Regions from separate parts of the Homo sapiens genome. Here region 1 is linked to region 2. The links are contacts of gene promoters, found by promoter capture Hi-C in blood cells and fetal thymus (Javierre and others, 2016). All regions are on one chromosome and are shown on one strand. Each heading gives the region's core, a stretch centred on a gene start or on the middle of the fragment in contact. The rest is flanking DNA. Distances are from core to core; before and after follow the strand shown.

Evidence for each region. The method cuts DNA at HindIII sites, captures the fragments that hold promoters and counts their contacts. A CHiCAGO score of 5 or more calls a contact.
Region 1: a fragment that was not itself captured here is called in contact with the fragment with the promoter of ANTXR1 in region 2 in 8 of 17 cell types (naive CD8 T cells, fetal thymus, megakaryocytes and 5 more); the score reaches 7.1 in naive CD8 T cells.

Annotation. Positions count from the first base shown.
Region 1 is chr2:68,487,304-68,490,003 of GRCh38, reverse strand. The region is part of intron 1 of APLF (aprataxin and PNKP like factor); the gene reads right to left. Among named protein-coding and RNA genes, the nearest start is that of APLF, 21 kb to the right of the region's middle. The HindIII fragment of the contact is 1,449 bases long and covers 539-1,987 here.
Region 2 is chr2:69,011,793-69,014,492 of GRCh38, reverse strand. ANTXR1 (ANTXR cell adhesion molecule 1) reads right to left here and starts at 1,314. Exons shown (of 18, transcript NM_032208.3): 1 at 842-1,314. The coding sequence starts at 993. The HindIII fragment of the contact is 7,309 bases long and covers 1-2,700 here.

The DNA.
Region 1 (2,700 bases), core at 14-2,513, 520 kb after region 2:
CCTGCCCAAAGTCATGGAAGAGTCAACAACAGAGCCTCAAGCCTAGAATCTAACGGATCCCAAAACCTTGCATGATAGTTTCCATTCATGACAGACATCTACTGGGGATTCTTACCAAGAAAATTCATAAAATACGAAAAGTCTGTATATAATATGTACTTACCAGAAAACATTTCAAATACAAGAAACATATAGTATGTCATGATGATAAAGGTTTTAAAAGGAAGAGATCCCATGCTCGAGGATCTGGTAAGTGTAAAAGGGTCTGACTATAGGCTTTGGGGTCAAAGAGACCCAGATCAGGCAGAACTGCATGCAAACTCTGGGGCCATCAGCAGCAGTTAAGAGTTCAGGAAGGCAAGAAGGGGAATAGTGAAAACCAAACATTTTCAGTAAGAAATAAATTAGCATTTTTTAAAAATATCTATTTGCTTCCTGTTTTGAGCCAACAGTGTTCTACTTAGGCTCACAATCATTTCCACATACCAAAGTTCAAAAATTGTTTGCATGTTAAATGCTGACAGTGCCAATCAAAGCTTTCCCTTTTCACTGTAAATACAATAGTTAAGATTGCCTTTTTTATTTGTGGTTGATTGATAGATAATGAAAACATGTTAAGCACCAACTTCAATAACACCATAACTACCTGACCCATCTCTTGGTAACCTTGATATTCAGCACTTGAATGTTGGCATTATCCGCATAAGGACCAAAATTATCAGTAAAAAATAGACCATACCAACACATAAACTCAATTAAACCTATTAGTTCCACAAAAAATGTGAAACTGCCAGGAGTCAGTACTCATTTTTTTAACCAGATAGCTGTTCCACACTTAAGGCTGTAACATATAGACAGTAATATCAAGCATCGGAATGAGTATCACATGAATGAATTTTTCACAATCTATTGTTAGCCACAATGGCTATCCAAGAAGTAAGTACAAACTAATAATCTATTGTTTCAGAAAAAAAGAGGCTAAAAATTTAAAGATTCCTTTCTTTTTCCCAGATTGTACCTTTTTTTTTATTATTATACTTTAAGTTTTAGGGTACATGTGCACAATGTGCAGGTTAGTTACATATGTATACATGTGCCATGCTGGTGTGCTGTACCCAATAACTCGTCATTTAGCATTAGGTATATCAGATTGTACCTTAGTAGGCTAAAAACAACAGCAGTTATCTGATGACTCATTGCATCATTTGCACAGAACTTTCACTTAAATGTTGTGATTCAACATAACATTGCCATAGCTATTATTAACACTTTACATAGAAATTGAAAGTCCAGAGAATTTAGGTAACTTGGGTAGGTCACTCTCCAAGTAGGCAGCACTCCAAATCCACACTCCTTTTAATAAAAATAGGTAATAGGCAGGGTGTGGTGGCTGCAATCCCAGCACTTTGGGAGGCTGAAGTGGGAAGACTCCTTGAGCCCAGGAATTCAAGACTAGCCTGGGCAACACAGTGAGACCCCCATCTCTACATAAAGTAAAAAATTAGCTGGACAGAGGGCATGTGCCTATAGTCCCAAATATTAATACTTGGGAGGCTGAGGTATGAAGATTGCTTGAACCCAGGAGGTCAAGGTTGCAATGAGCCATGATCGTGCCACTGCATGCCAGCCTGGGGGACACGGTGAGACCCTGCCTCAAAAAAAAAAAAAAAAAAAGATAATAAATGTAGAACACATTTATACATGACTGTACCTACATGTAATCATTCAAAAGTAATTTCAAAAAATGCGGCTGAGAGTAAGCAGTTCCTATTTCTGACTTGGGTACCAAAATCTCATTGTTACTTCCATACTACGAACCAATTTTCTAACCAACAGAGTAATAAGCTATCAAATATAAAACTATGGCATATAAAGCTGGTTCCTTTAACAGTCCATCTTAAATTTCTTTCTTTCCTTTTTTAAACTGTATTTTTTCAGGAAGCAATACATGAACTTTTCCTATCTCTGTCTTTCTTTGAAGTAAGCTTCACTGACACTACGAAGATAAAAGACATTTTAAGTAATATAAAAGTATAATGTGACCTCTAGTGGACACATAACTCCACAACAGTGTAATTTCATTACAAGCTATGTGTCTTTATAGAATACAAAAAGAATGCTATAAACAATCTTTGAAATTAACATCACTCAGACATTTATAGTGTTCCTTTTAAAGTAAAACCCTAAATAGTGAATACACAATAAAATAACCATTTGCACTTTCTCAATGGGAAGCATAAAGGTTTAATAAATTATCATTAAAACATTTTAATGTCACGATTGATATACGGAGAGGGGTGGGGAGCAAGTGACAAACAGATTATCCTAAAGATCTGATGATCTGCTTTATTTAACAGCCTATCACTGCTCCTTATACAGAGTGAATATCCAACACATTTTTATTATTTATTAATACATCAACTGTAATAACAATCAATTATCAACACCAAAGCACCATTCTAGACTTGTCATGTATCATCTTTTTCAGTCTTCACAAAATCTGTGAAGATACTATTATTATACTTCACTTCATAGGTGAGAAAATGGAAGTACAGAGAGTTTAAGCAACTACTCAGTTACACAACCAATAAGTAGTAGGGCCAGGATCTGAACCTAAGGAATCAGATTCCAGAACCATTCATGCTCTTAACGTTGTATTGCATCCCTCAATATCATTACATGAAACCTAAAGCAAAACCT
Region 2 (2,700 bases), core at 65-2,564:
CCACTTTTTGCAAGGAAACCAGGGCTCCTGCACCTCCCTGGTAGCCCACCAGTCAAATGGCCAAGAGCTTGAATTCACTACATCTGGGGTACTCAAGTCGAAGGGGAGGGACATTTGGCAATGTCTGGAGGCATTTTTAGTTGTCACCACTAATAAGGAAGGAGTGGGGGGCGGGGGATGTTACTGGCATCCAGTGGGCAGAGGCCAAGGATGCTGCTAAACATCCTACAACGCGCAGGACAGCCCCCACCACAAAGAATTACCAGGTTTCAATCTCAGAAGTGCCAAGGTTAAGAAACCCTGCCTTTCATTCTCACTCAGTGCCCGGTGAGAAGTATGCATTACATGATTAGGAGCAAAGATAATGCCTTCCGTGGGACAGCGTTTCAAAACAAAACAAAAAAACAAAAACAAAAACAAAATGCGACGATTGGCTTTAAAATGCCCAAGCCTCTAACTTTAGGAGTGCCTGTGCCTGCAAGTTCTGCCTTTGGTAAGCAAGCCTTTCCCACCAACACGGGAGGGAGTCACAGAAACTCAGCAAGACAATAGCATCCTCCAAGCCCCTTGCCTGCTCCTGGGACACAGAAAGCAAGACAGAAAAGAAGTCTGTCCCCTTCCGAGCAAGCGGCGTCGCCTCGGCTGCGGGCTCTGGAGCCGAGGCTGGGAGGAGCGCGCCCCAACAAAGGCGCAGCACTCCGCCGCCGCCTGCCGCGCGGTCCCTCTGTGGCCCTGGAGATGCGCTCCTGTCCCCAGGCGACCCTGCCAACGAGCCCGGCCCGGGGCGAAAGCGTTTTCGCCCGCTTAGCCTGGGGTGGGGGGGACAACTCGCGGCACTTACTTGTCCAAAATGAAGTACAGGTCAAATCCGCCGTAGCAGGCTGGACCCCCATCCTCCCTGCGTCCCCCTTGCCCGGCGCAGATGAGCACCAGAGTGGCCAAAGAGAGCCACTGGAAGCCGATGCCGAGGGCTCTCCGCTCCGCCGTGGCCATGGCCCGCAGCCCGGGGAGAGCAGGGTCCGCTCCTTCCCACGCTCCGCGAACTCGCCACGACCCTCAGGGACGCGCCATCCGCGGGCCCTTCCTCGCGGGTCCTTTATTCCCCCTCGCTCCCTCGCAACTCCCCGGAAGCAATTGTCTGGAGGAGTTCAAGGTTTCCCCTCTGGTTTCCGCTCCGATGCTGTTTCTGGGTTTCGGGTTTCAAGGATCCCAATCCTGTCCTCCGCTTCTTTTAAAGGGGAGGGCTGCCTCGGTCCGGGGCCGCCGGGCAGCTCCCGAGGCCGCGCCGAGCTTTTGCAATGGAAGGAGTTCCGTCCCGACGGTTCTTTGTCCCAGATTTTAAATATGATGGGGGGGGGGGGGGGTTTCAAATTGTTCTTGGTGGGGGCAGTGCTTTGCCTTCTCTCCTTCCTCTCTGCCCCCCTTTCGCGTTCTTACGGGGAAGAAAGTTCAAAGGCTGCCACCTTGTGGACAAAGGCGGCGAAAGCACGCGTGGGACCCGCGGGAGTGCGTCGGGGGCGGGGGCGCTTCCAGGCTTCGCGTATAAATTTCCTTGTCCTTACCATTCTCATGTGAGCTGTGCGTGTTTTCTTACTCCTTCCTTCTTCCCACGCACTTTCCCTTTCTTTTTCCGTGACCGCCTCTCCATTCTCTGTAGTCCTTCTATTCCTTCTTTTCCTTCCCTATCCTGCATCTTTTGATAAGGTCACTAAACATTGGATGAGAATTTGTTTCCTCCAACCACGGTGACTCCGGCTCCCCAGGCTAGGACCTTTGCAAACAAACCATTGTGCAGATGAAGTAGGGGAAAAACGGGACCTTTGTGGTATGAGTCATCAGAGTGACCTTACATGGTCTTAGTCTGTCTGGACCATAAAAGAGACTGTTGGGGTCCGGTCTGAAACCATCACAAACAACCCCACAGAGTGTGGTACTTAGGGCTGCTCCCGGCATGGAACAGCTGAGCCTTCTAGATGGCCACCATCTCCATCTTTTAGGGATTCTATGATAATAGTTCTTCTTTTCAGCCTGTGAACTTTGACATTTTCTCTCTATCTTTGATTTAGGATGGAGGAAGTAAACAGCTTACAAGAGTAGAGACGCTCCAAGCAGTTTGGAATTGGCAGGGAAGTTCCGTGCTAGCCTCTCTAAATTGGAGAATCAGCCTCTGAGCCCCAGTTCCGAGTGGTACCCCAGTTCTAGCTTCCTATTGTCTTCCGCTCTGGGAGCCCTCAGTGCATATGCATGTACTGTTTTCCCAGGATTCTTCCTCCAGACACACATATTCCCCTCCACTTGTGTGCCTCCCAGACCCTTATACCCCAATGTGACAGTCCATGGTGGTTTCCCCCAACATGTGTACCATGGAATCTTAGTGTCTTGGAATGCTCCACTAACCAATAATCATGTTGTCAAATCAGCCTTGAAGATTTGTCATGCGTAGCACTGACCTGCCTCCAAAATGAACCCAGTGTTTCTCACCTCCTGGAATTCACACCCCTTCCACCTTGGGTGAGACTGACCTGTGAGTAATTAAGAAGATGGTGTGTGGCTTCTGAGGATAGGCCATGAGAGATGTTGTGGTTTTTCCCTTCTCTCTTGGATCACTCACTGTAGGAGAGCCCACTGCCATGTCGTGAGAACACACAAGCAGCCCCAAGGAGGGGTCCGTGTGGTAAGGAACTGAGACCCCTGCTGGCA